Linked DNA regions of Homo sapiens: region 1 is linked to region 2. Evidence: promoter capture Hi-C in 16 types of primary human blood cells and fetal thymus (Javierre and others, 2016). All regions are on one chromosome and are shown on one strand. Each heading gives the region's core, a stretch centred on a gene start or on the middle of the fragment in contact. The rest is flanking DNA. Distances are from core to core; before and after follow the strand shown. Region 1 holds the start of TXNL4A (thioredoxin like 4A). Region 2 overlaps CTDP1 (CTD phosphatase subunit 1).

The links. Contacts are between HindIII fragments. The CHiCAGO score rates a contact against its expected background, and 5 or more counts as called.
Region 1: a contact is called between the fragment with the promoter of TXNL4A here and a fragment that was not itself captured in region 2, in 2 of 17 cell types (naive CD8 T cells and M2 macrophages). The highest score is 5.3, in naive CD8 T cells.

What each region holds. Positions count from the first base shown.
Region 1 is chr18:79,984,641-79,990,591 of GRCh38, forward strand. TXNL4A (thioredoxin like 4A) reads right to left here and starts at 3,923. Exons shown (of 3, transcript NM_006701.5): 1 at 3,600-3,923. The coding sequence starts at 3,752. RefSeq lists silencers at 3,736-3,975, 4,016-4,305. The HindIII fragment of the contact is 10,310 bases long and covers 1-5,567 here.
Region 2 is chr18:79,691,661-79,698,094 of GRCh38, forward strand. It overlaps CTDP1 (CTD phosphatase subunit 1), which reads left to right. Exons shown (of 13, transcript NM_004715.5): 2 at 3,565-3,648; 3 at 4,317-4,410; 4 at 6,200-6,328. Among named protein-coding and RNA genes, the nearest start is that of CTDP1, 15 kb to the left of the region's middle. RefSeq lists an enhancer at 6,143-6,434. The HindIII fragment of the contact is 7,815 bases long and covers 1-6,434 here.

The DNA of each region.
Region 1 (5,951 bases), core at 2,673-5,172, 290 kb after region 2:
GGTCTCGCTCTATCACCCAGGGTGGAGTGCAACGGCACGATGATAGCTTACTGCAGCCTTGACCTCCTGAGCTCATACTCTGTCTTAGCCTCCTGAGTAGTGGGGTTACAGGCACATGCTACAATGCCCAGCTCACTGAGACTATTTTAAACTCTATTTGCGTGGGCTTTTTAACACAAAAAATAAACGTCCCATTCAGTCTTCTCACCCATCATGGGATTTAGGTAACAGTGAACCCCAAGCACTGCTGTGAGTGTTCCTACAAAATGGAAAGACAGCTCAAAGGCACATGAAATTGTCCCCTCTGAGAGCGTTCCTACAAAATAGAAAGACAGCTCAAAGGCACATGAAATTGTCTCCTGTGACGGCGTTCCCACAAAATGGAAAGACAGCTCAAAGGTCCATGAAATTGTCTCCTGTGACGGTGTTCCTACAAAATGGAAAGATAGCTCAAAGGTACATGAAATTGTCTCCTGTGATGGTGTTCCTACAAAATGGAAAGACAGCTCAAAGGTCCATGAAATTGTCTCCTGTGACAGTGTTCCTACAAAATGGAAAGACAGCTCGTACATGAAATTGTCTCGCTTCAAAACTGCATAAAATCAGCTGCTAAATAGAAAACTTTTTTTTTTTGAGACAGGGTCTCGCTCTGTCACCCAGGCTGGCATGCAGTGGCGCGATCACGGCTTGTCACAGCCTTGAACTCCTGGACTCATATCCTCCCACCTCGGCCTACCAAGTAGTTGGGACCACAGGCACATGCCACAACGCCTAGCTAATGTTTGCATTTTTTGTACAGACAAGGTTTCACCATGTTGCCCGGGCTGTTCTCGAACTCCTGGGCTCAAGGGAACCACCCACCTCGGCCTCCCAAAATGCTGGGACCACAGGCGTGAGACACAGTGCCCAGATGAAAACTTTATTTATTATTATCACTTTATCAAATGAATTGCCCCACATTTATTAGCAAACTCTAGGCATCTGTGAAATCTTTTAAGCATAGCTCTGTTTCCAAACTGACTTTATTCCTGAAGTTTACAGCTCAACTCTAATCCAGCATGAAGTCAAGTGGGCCCTGTGGAAGCAGCAAATCAATACAACACATCTAGGAAAAATCATATCAAGTCCAGCCTGAACATTTGCAACTGTTACTCACTTTAAAACAGCTGGAATATCCAGACAGAACTCGGAACAAGGTAAGGAAGAGTCCCCATTATCTGCCATTTCTGCACAGGGAAATTTTTAAATAGTTATATTGTTCTTTATACTAAAACCTTATATTTCAAAAATTTCTGTTGAGCTTCTCCAAAAAAGGGCTTCCAGAATTAGGAAGTCATATTTGCCCATAGACTAAGAAGAAAATAAAACATGAATATTCTTTTAATGCATTTCAGGTGTGCACTTTTTTTTTTTTTGGAGACAGAGTCTCACTCCTGTTGCCCAGGCTGGAGTTCAGTGGTGTAATCATGGCTCACTGCAGTCTTGACTTCCCGGGCTCAGGTGATTCTCCCACCTCAGCCTCCCAAGTAGCTGGGACTACAGGCACGTGCCACCACGCCCGGCATTTGTACTTTTAGTAGAGAAGGGGTTTCACCATATTGTCCAGGCTGGTCTCGAATCCCTGGGCTCAAGTGATCGCCTACGCTGGCCTCCCAAAGTGCTGGGATTACAGACATGAACTACCGCGCCTGGCCTAGGTTTGCCCTTTTAATAACTATATTATAATATTCGCATTAAAAGTTTATTAATAAAGCTATCCAAATTTTTGGACAAAAACAAAAATCAGACTATTTTAAAAGACCAAAAAAAATACCCCAAAGTGAGCCCATTTCAACTGTCCTTAAGTGTGTGTCCACTATGTGTGTCCACTAGTGATACAGTGATTCATTCTGTAATAACAAAGAAATTGGACATAAAGGAGTTGGAAAAGAGCAAATCTGGCAAAGACCCTAAACACTTACATTAACACATAAAATCTGTTTTCTAGCTAAGAGCATCTTGCTGAGCTGTGCTCGGATGTGATGAGACAAAGGCCCTCACATCTCCAGCCATCCTAGCCTCGAGCTGCCGGCAGCAGGATCTGAACACCACCCGATGTTTATGCCACCACCTGCAATGTAGAACAGTGAAAGATTCTAGAATTCATAACTCAAAGTCAATACAGCAGTGATTTACTTATTGGGAAACTGCTCTTAGTCAATTCTTCGCTGGATTTCCAGTATCTGCCCTTGTCCACTACAGCTCAAGCAATGACAAACTGATGTGTGGCACTGCCTCTCTCATCATCTCTAATCCCCGGCTGGCAGAACCCCCAGCGTGTGAGAGAACTGCTGCTCTCCCGAATTCCCTAGGTCCCTCCTCAAGTCCTCAGTGTCCAGGAGGAAGAGGCTGCGAGATGGCTGGTACTAAAGCTACTCCACCTCCATCCCTGACCCCCATGGAAGGTGGTTCAAGGTCAAGTCGCATCAGAATTCCCTGAGGGGCTTCTTTAAAAAGCCATTGCTGGACTTCACCCCATACCCATAGAATCAGAATCACAGATGCATTCTAGTAAGCACTCCAAGGGAGTCTTGTAATAACTAAAATATAACAACAGTTCCTAACTTCATGCCTCTCCTACTAAATAAGAAATAGCAAAAATTAATAAATGGCAGGCCAGATAGTCTTTCCTTTCCTGAATATAAAATATGTCCTTACATCTGTTACTCTTTACTCAAAGGAGTTATTTTAACCCAGGCCTACTTTTTAGCATCTGTGAAAGAAAAGATAGCTTCAATGTTACTTTTACTCTTCATTAAAAGGAATAACCTCTCAAATTACTTATGGAAAATTAATATGGCAAATATTTTATTAACACCCTAGTATTTGTGCCCTTTGCCCTATTGCTACAGCTGCAAAACCTCAATAAAAGTCATCCTAAAATTGCTATGAGGAACCACAGAAAAAGAATGAAATCTGGTTATAAAATAGTGTCCTACAACTTTTATTGTCAGCAAGTAAATGCCAAGACCACTCAGTGTACTAATATTAGAAATTCAGAGAACTAATTCTAACAAAGCATATTTCTATTTTCTCCTGATGTTTACTGCACCTCAATCACTGTAAGCTGTAAACCACATGACTCACAAAAAGCGTGGTGGGATAAAAAAACACACCCACAGAAAAGCAGGATTTCTCATGCTATGAACATGAAAGTCCTGCTTTATGCATACAACGAATAACTCAGGTACCAAAAAAAGACGTCCTTTTAAATTAAGGATCCGCGCTCTCAATAAAACCTGCAAGTGCATTTTGTTCACTGAACTATAAGTTTGGGAAAAACGCCTTATCAACAGAAATAATTAATTCATTTGAGAGGAGGGGGATCATAAACCCTTTAAAATATGAAAAACTACAAGAGCTCCCCGCAGAAAAAGGCGTGAAACGCCGGCACAGTCCCCGAGAGCGCTCGACCGCAGCGAGGGGAGGAATCGCCTGAACGACGGAGCCGCGGCCCCTCCTCGGGGAACAGCTCGCGCCCCCAGGCGACGCCGGCAGGGCAGAGGCGCGGGGCAGATGCGGAAGCACAGCCCGCAGAGCGGGAGAGTCCGGCGCGCTACCTTCTCGGCGATGCTGTACAGGACCTCGTCCATCTTCATGCACGTAGGATCCCAGTCGTGGCCGAAGCGGATGACGACCACGCGGTCCTCCTCCGAGAGGATGGCCTGGTCCACCTGCCAGCCGTTGTGCAGGTGCGGGAGCATGTACGACATGGCGGCCCGCGCGCTCGCCGCCGCCCAAGGCGGGGCGCCAGGGAGGGCCCAGCGAGGTGGGCTCAGCCGGCCCCTCACTCCCCGGCCCCCGCCGCCCCCGGGCCCACGGACGAAATCCGGTCCCGCCCGCACACGCAAACTCCGCTGGGACTGCCACCCGGCAGAACGTCTGGGCGCGCACGCACCGACGCCGTGCGTGCTGACGGCATGCGCGCGCGCTAGCGCCGTGCGTGCTGACGGCATGTGCGTATAGGCGCCGCGCGAACGTGTAGTTGGCCGGGTGGAGCGGCGGCGACCTGGGCACCGTGGAGCGCCGTTGGTTCCGTCATAGCAGCTGTCGGAGTGGGGGTTCCTCCCCAGCGTCCAGGCGGCCTGGTGGTCCTGAGAAGCCCCGGGCTCGCCGTGCCCTGCCCCCACGCTCCCGCCCCGAGGCCGCCCGCCGCCGCCCGGGCTGTCCTCCAGCCACGGATGGGGACGTCCAGAAAGGCCCGGAATGCCCGGCACTGCGGCTCGTTTTCTTCCTTTCTGGTGCTTGTTTCTGTGTGTTACTAAGACAGTTCATGTGTGTCATTTGTGAAACTTGATCATAAAAATGTGTCGTTGTTGCCATACCCAACCACAGCAGAGTCGAGCAGCGGGGTAGGGAGGAAGCACTGGGCAGGCCGTCCTTGAGGAATGTCACCATCAGGCCGGCTGCTGAGCTGCCTGTTGTAACCTGAAACCAGGTTTTTTAATTTGTCTTTTTATAAAGAAAAAAAATTTTTTTTTGAGACGTGCAGTGACGTGATCTTGGCCCACTGCAGCCTCCGCCTCCCGGGGTCAAGCGCTTCTCCTGCCTCCGCCTCCCCATAAGCTGGGACTACAAGGCGCCAGCCCGGCTAGTGTTTTTTTGTACTTAGTAGAGACGGGGTTTAACCATGTTGGCCAGGCTGGTCTTGAACTCCTGACCTCAAGTGATCTGCCCGCCTCGGCCTCCCAAAGCGCTGAAATTACAGGAAGAAGCCACCGCGCCCGACCTAAAGCCAGTTTTATTCCATAGCTTCAGCATAACTTCCACCTCCAGGACTGATCTGGCCCCCTGGCTTCGCTCACCAGTCAGAGCTCCCCAAACCCTTACTAGTGCCAGTGAACTTTCTCAAAGAGAAATAAGTTAATATTTCTCTTTTTAAAATAAAACCTCTAACCTCTGTTCTTCTGAGAGAGCACTTTGGGTTCATGCTGGAGACTCCCTGGTTTGCAAACTGATATTGATAGTAAAACTCTTGTCTACTATCTAGCTATCCTGGTGGTCCTTTAGATGACAAATTTAAAACAAATCACGCCCGGGCGCGGTGGCTCACGCCTGTAATCCCAGCACTTTGGGAGGCCGAGGCCGGCGGATCGCCTATGGTCGGGAGTTCAAGACCAGTCTGGCCAACATGGTGAAACCCCGTCTCTACTAAAAATACAAAAAATTACCCGGGCATGGTGGCGCCCGCCTATAATCCCAGCTACTAGGGAGGCTGAGGCAGGAGAATCGCTTGAACCCAGGGGGTGGAGGTTGCAGTGAGCTGAGATCGCACCACTTCACTCCAGCCTGGGTGACAGAGTGAGACTCCATCTCAAAAACAACAACAAATCACTATGCAGATGCTGTGGTGTCTCTCAGATGGGCTGTGGCATGGTGAGAACTACAGTCTGAAGAGCCTGCTGGCATGGGGATTGAAATGGGTTCCATGTTTGGTTTCCTCTGGGACACAGCACCATAAGGTGCTTTGATAATATGCACCCACAATTTAAATACTAGAATCACAAGTGCAGCTCACTGCCAGATTAAGCTTTTTACATAATACAGAATATTTCCCAATTATATACGAAATGCTTTATTGTAATGAAACAATTTCAGGTTGGTAGGATATTAGAGATCATCTAAATCTCTTTCATTTTATAATTGAGTAAAGCAGAGGCACAGAATATAAGCATAGTGGTTAACAGTGAGGGTTTTAGTTACATAAAGGCGTGTTCAGGTTCATCTGTGCCTTGCATAAGTTATCTCAACAAACTTCAGTTTCCTCATCCATGAGATGGGATGATAAAACAAAATCTCCTGTACTTCATTGGCACCAGGTACACACTGGAGAAATCTGAGCCCTTACTAAGGTCAGGCTATTGCCTTCTAAAAAATTCCTTACCGTCATTTTGGTAGTCACTCATTTCAGA
Region 2 (6,434 bases), core at 2,111-4,610:
GGAGTGGACGGCTCCCAGGGTGGACTCGGGGTGGGGGAGGAGTGGACGGCTCCCAGGGTGGACTCGGGGTGGGGGAGGAGTGGACGGCTCCCAGGGTGGACTCGGGGTGGGGAGGAGTGGACGGCTCCCAGGGTGGACTCGGGGTGGGAGAAGAGTGGACGGCTCCCAGGGTGGACTCGGGGTGGGGAGGAGTGGACGGCTCCCAGGGTGGACTCGGGGTGGGGGAGGAGTGGACGGCTCCCAGGGTGGACTTGGGGTGGGGGAGGAGTGGACGGCTCCCAGGGTGGACTCGGGGTGGGGGAGGAGTGGACGGCTCCCAGGGTGGACTCGGGGTGGGGGAGGAGTGGACGGCTCCCAGGGTGGACTCGGGGTGGGGAGGAGTGGACGGCTCCCAGGGTGGACTCGGGGTGGGGAGGAGTGGACGGCTCCCAGGGTGGACTCGGGGTGGGAGAAGAGTGGACGGCTCCCAGGGTGGACTCGGGGTGGGGAGGAGTGGACGGCTCCCAGGGTGGACTCCGGGTGGGGAACAGTGGAGAAAACCTTTGCAGAACACACTCTGCAGGCGTTTGTCAGCCGTTGATCCATTTGTGTGAAGCCCCACTGGCTGGAAGGTGCCCCCCGCCCGCCATGGAGTTTTCTGGGCACCTTGGTGGGTCGTCTGTCGGTCATACCTTTGAGTCTTTCTGGACTCCTCTGTTCCATGCGTTTATGTTGTATGCCTGATAAGTTCTGAAGTCAGGTAGTAAAAGTTCTCTGTTATTTTTGAAAATTGAGATTCTAGGTTTTCTGAACTTCCATATAAATTTCAGAAGCAACTTGTCAATTTCTACAAAAAAACACCTGTTTATTGGTTAAACTAGAGCCACCCCAGATCCTTCTTCATGTTAACATGTTTAGGAGAGATTGGCAAAATCCTCCTAGTTCATATTTGAGGATTCCTTTCCCTCTCTTCCCCTTGCAGGGGGTAGAGCAAGGAGGAGCCCGCGGTGAGCTGGTGTCTTGCATGGGGCAGGGGGTAGAGCGAGGAGCCCGCCGTGAGCTGGTGTCCTGCGTGGGGCAGAGGGTAGAGCAAGGAACCCGCCGTGAGCTGGTGTCCTGTGTGGGGCAGGGGGTAGAATGAGGAGCCTGCCATGAGCTGGTGTCCTGTGTGGGGCAGGAGCTGTGCAGAGTTTCCTTGCAGAAGGCTGATTGCAAAATGATGTCAGCTGGAGACCAGGGAAGCCTGTTAGAGGGGCTGGGGCTCCCAAGTGGGGTTGCTGCCAGGACTGGGGGAGCAGTGCCCAGGGAAAGGACGTGGGGCCATTGGGAGGACTGGGTTTGGGTGTTGGCGGTGGGGCCGCAGAGCCCTGTGGATGGACGAAAACAGCTCAGCCGGGGAGTTGGGGGCTGCCAGGCATCGGAGAGGAGCCTGGATGTGGAGGCCCCGAGTGCGATGGCGGTAGGGACACAGACTCCTGGGCGGGGATGGCCCCTGTGGCCTCAGCAAGCAGGGAGCAGGTGTCCCTGAGGCCTGTGAAGCCTGGCAGTGTCTTTGAGCAGGTGTGGTGACCGGGAGGGAGGATGGTCCAGTGTGGGGTTTGTGCGTTTTTTTTGTTTTTGTTTTTGTTTTTTTTCAGAGATTGGGTTTTTAGGTTAAGTCTCTGCTCATTGGGGCATTTTAGGGCAGAACTCTAATCATTCATTGTAAAGTATTTTGATAAAATTAAGGAAATCATACTTGTCACCTTAGAAAGTTTAACACACTTTTTCAAACAAGGTGTCACTATTTTGTTGTCTGGTTTAAGAAAAAAACCTGATACAGGTTGAGTCTCCCATATCCAAACTGCTTGGAAACAGAAGTGTTTTGGATTTCTGGGTTTTTTTGGATTTTGGAATATTTGCACGTATACATGACGAGATGTCTTGGGGATGGGACGTGAGTAAACGCGGAATCCATTTGTGTTGCACATGCACTGTGTACGCACAGGCCCAGGACCCGGAGGAGCTCAGATTCTTGATAGTCACCGGCAGCCCACTCCATCCCCGAGGGCTCGGAGCCCCGCACCGTGTGTCCTCAGCACCGTTCCTCCTCCAGGGTGATCCGCACACGCCCATCCTCCTCCCCAGGAAGAACTCCCCTCCACTCCCCTCCAGGCTACAGACCCGCCCCTCCCATTCTCCCTGCAGGATGCTGGCTACAGACCCGCCCCTCCGAGTCTCCCTGAAGGATGCAGGCTACAGACCCGCCCCTCCGCTCCCCTGCAGGATGCAGGCTGCAGACCCGCCCCTCCCAGTCTCCCAGCACAGCCTGCCATGGCACAGTGGGCATGGAGGATGTGGCTCCGCCTTGTTTCCGCCTGTGGCCTGATCCTTGCGCCCTCTCGATGACATGGCTGGGGGTCTTGGTGGGCCATGGGGCATCCCGCCTGGAAAGGTCCCATTGACAGATGCAGCTTGGGTGGCTGTCTCATGTCCGCGGGTCAGGGTGGTCGGAGCAGCCCGGCTGGGACGGGAGTGTGGGGGCTGTGAGCACCTAGGGGCGGGTGCTGAGTGCTGGGCGGCCTCATGTCTGCAGGGCAGGGTGGTCGGAGCAGCCCGGCTGGGATGGGAGTGTGGGGGCTACAGGCACCTAGGGGTGGGCGCTGAGTGCTGGGCGGTCTCATGTCCACGGGGTGGGGTGGTCGGAGCAGCCCAGCTGGGACGGGAGTGTGGGGGTTGCGAGCTCCTAGGGACACTGAGTGCCGGGCAGCCTCGTGTCCGCGGGGCGCGGTGGTCGGAGCAGCCCGGCTGGGATGGGAGTGTGGGGGCTACAGGCACCTAGGGGTGGGCGCTGAGTGCTGGGCGGTCTCATGTCCACGGGGTGGGGTGGTCGGAGCAGCCCGGCTGGGGTGGGAGTGTGGGGGCTGCGGACACCTAGGGTCAGGCGCTGAGTGCTGGGTGGTCTCATGTTCGCAGGGTGGGGCGGTCGGAGCAGCCCGGCTGGGGTGGGAGTGTGGGGGCTGAGGGCACCTAGGGGCGGGCGCTGAGTGCCAGGCGGCCTCTGGTCTCATAGCCTTCAGATTTCAGCACTTCTTCCATGGCTTCTGCCAGAAGACCACTGTTTGGACAAATAAAACAGTTTGTGTTTATATAAAACGAACATTACAGTCATTTTGTCAGGAAAATGTAGTTGCATCAGCCTCTGTCTAGACTGGGAATGATATGAAAGTTTTAGATTTTATAAATTCTCTAACGGAAATGTCAGAGGATCACATATAAATAGTGTGTTTTGAGACAACTTTATGTTATCCCCAAGTCTCCTCTTTGGACCAGACATCCTTAGTTTTTTCAGCTGTTCCACGGGTGGCACGGGGGTGGTGAGGTGTGGTGGCGTGTCATTTTTCATGAGAGACACCTGTAGGTGGAAAGTCCTTTCATTTTATAGACAAAGAAATGCCCTCAAGGGGTGATGTCACCTGCCTACAAAGTTATGCAAGGGTTAGTGTAGAATTGGTACAAAAACCTAGATTTTAAAATTCTTACTTGGGGGCTCTTTTGATAAACCAAGAGATTTTAAAGTGTTGTTCCCCTTGTGTTTTTTTGTAGAGCGGTTCTGGTGAGGTTGGAAGGATGCAGCCACCCGGTTGTCATGAAAGGCCTGTGTGCTGAATGTGGCCAAGACCTCACCCAGTAAGTATCCGGAAGAGTGAGATCGCTGCCTGCTGGGGCTCGAGGTGGTGGCCTCCGGGGAGTCCGAGAAGCTGTGCTGGGAACACAGTGAGGCCCTTGGTTTCCCAGCGGCAGATGCAGACGCCTCCCTTGGGCCCCATACGAGTCACACTCAATGGGTTTCCCTGGAGGCAGTCCTTCCTGCTCTGTGACCCCAGCCTCATGCCATTCTCAGGTGTGGTGGGGGGGCATGCTGGAGGGCCGAGACCTGTTTTCTCCTGACTGAAGACGCAGATCGCTGAGTGCCTGGAGCAGCCCCTCCCTCTGGGCCGCTGAGCGCCCCATGCTGGGGGCTGCTTTACCTCTAATGCCAAGTGGGAGGTGCGGCAGCTACTTTTTCTGCGTTTTCATGGTTGAGGGCCTGTTTCTGCTTCTGTGTGACTTTGCAGTTTGTTTTCATGAAGGACTATGGCTCTGTGTGTTCATGAGTGTGGCCACGAGCTCAGTGTTTCCACCAGTTTTCCTGTCTGTGGAGAATGTTTCCACGTTTGCCGACAGAATCAAGTCTGTGCTAAGATAGCAGCGTGTGTCCGTTAAAACATCAGCTAGAATCCTGTCACTTAGAGCCCAGTGTGCATCTGTGCGCAGAGACTCAGCTGAAAGCCCTGAACCTGTCCTTGCACTTGCAGGTTGCAGAGTAAGAACGGGAAGCAGCAGGTGCCGCTGTCCACGGCGACCGTGTCCATGGTGCACAGCGTGCCGGAGTTGATGGTGAGCTCCGAGGTGAGCCGGGCATCAGTGGCGGCGTGTTGGGGAAGCGTGGTGCTCTGAGGAGGGCGGCTGCAGGAGGAGGGTGGCTGCAGAAGCACGGACGTGTGGTTGTCATCGTCGTTACTGAAACAACCCCTCATCACACGGATGACTTATGGGACTGCGGCCTTCCTGAAGCAGGGACGGTTGCCCTTGGTTCTCCACAGACAAGTCTGCCTGCAAAAGCGACTCAGGGCCCCGAGGCTGTGTGACCTGCGTGTCGGGAACACCAGGTGCTGCCGCCGCAGCTGTGAACAGCCAGGCTCAGCCTGGGTTCCCTTGAGCCAAGTCCTAACTGGGGAGGGATGTGACAGCTGCTCATGGAGCTCAGGAGGTGGCCGCGCTGCCGAGGCATGTGCTGGATGACCCGGGAGGGCAAAGCGCATATTGGGGCAGATAATGGCGAGGAGTCGGTGGCCGGGGGTAGGGGCGGGGGGACGTGGTTGGTAGCACCTTGTTGGCTACAGGAGCGGCTGCTGCTGGCACCATTGGGAAGCTGGCTCGGGAGAGTGGGCACATGCAGGGGCGGGTTGGGGGTCCCAGGAGTGTTTGCCTTGTAGCCGACAGGAGAGCCCATGGGGGGTACGCAGGGTGGAGAGGACGGGCAGGTGTTCACGTGCCCAGTTAAGAGTGAGATGGGTTTTTATCTTCGAGTGCTACGCCTCGTTTATGTATTTCAGGAGTTGCTGGGGCACTGTGGGTCAGCGGCTCCGGGCACCTCCTGTGCTTGAGGCAGACACCGTCTCCCCGACCTCGCTTCACCCCGTGGGTGAAAATGCTCTGGGAGCTGAGAAAAACTAGTTTGTGATCTTACAGACTTTCAGGGCTGCACAGTTTTGTAAATAGGTAAAACACTTTCCAGTGTTACGATTTTAGTAAATTCGTGCTTTTAAATGATGGACACCAATTTCAGTCTATCTTTTTATGGGAAAAGCAAAATGCCAGATACAGGATTCTGGGTTTTCTGAATTACCAAACTTTAAACAAATGTAAAATGTGTATGCGTAAACCAAAGCTGGCAAGTTTGAGGGTGAAGGGAGGAGGAAGTACCCCCCATCTTTCTGGCACCTGCCAGCCCTTCCGTGCGTTTCCCTTCGGGGATGGGCACGGGAGGAGGTCCCCCCTGAGCGGGACCAGGATTTTGTTGTGAAGAGTGAGGGCCAGTTACAGTGAGAAAGGCAGCGTGGTGCGTCACATCCCGTGTCCCATGCCGGGCTCCTGATGCCGGGGTGACCGGGCCCTTGTTAGGAGCTCCACTCTGGGCCCCGCGTGGAGGGACACCCCGATGCGCTGTTGCCAGGCCCCCGGGTCTCTTCGAGGCACAAGAATAGGCTGAGCGTGGAAGGTTCTGAGCGCGGGAGATTCTGAGCGCATTGCCCTTACCAGTCTCTGCTGCCCAGCTTGGGCCACCCAGCGTCTCCCAGCCGGCCGACTTGGTTTCTTCATTAATTTTGCAGTTCACTTTTATTGAGCACTCCATACTGTTGAATCCAGCTTTTATAGAAACAACCAGTTTCCCTTCCCCCTCCGTTTTCATTGGCTCATGTATTTAACTGAATTATAAAATTGTGGTCACAAGCGAGGTTGCCGTGACCAGGTTGGTGACCCAGCCCTGCCTCTCGGCCTGTACGGCGCAGTCCATGGAGCGTGGGGGGCTGGAGGGGAACACATTGATATAGTTTTGTGTTTCTCGATGAAATGGAGTTTTACCTTGGATGCAAACATACTGACTTTGTCATTTCTTGTTTCTTTTTAATTGTAGCAAGCTGAACAGCTGGGAAGAGAAGACCAGCAGCGACTGCACCGAAACCGGAAGCTGGTGCTCATGGTGGACTTGGACCAGACGTTGATTCACACAACCGAGCAGCACTGTCAGCAGATGTCGAATAAAGTGAGTGCAGTCAGCATCTACGGACAGTTTCCCAGGAACCGCGGGTCCTAGAATTTTGATTCAGAAGTGTGTTCTCTTGTTTTTTAGATGATTTCCCGTAGGTCAG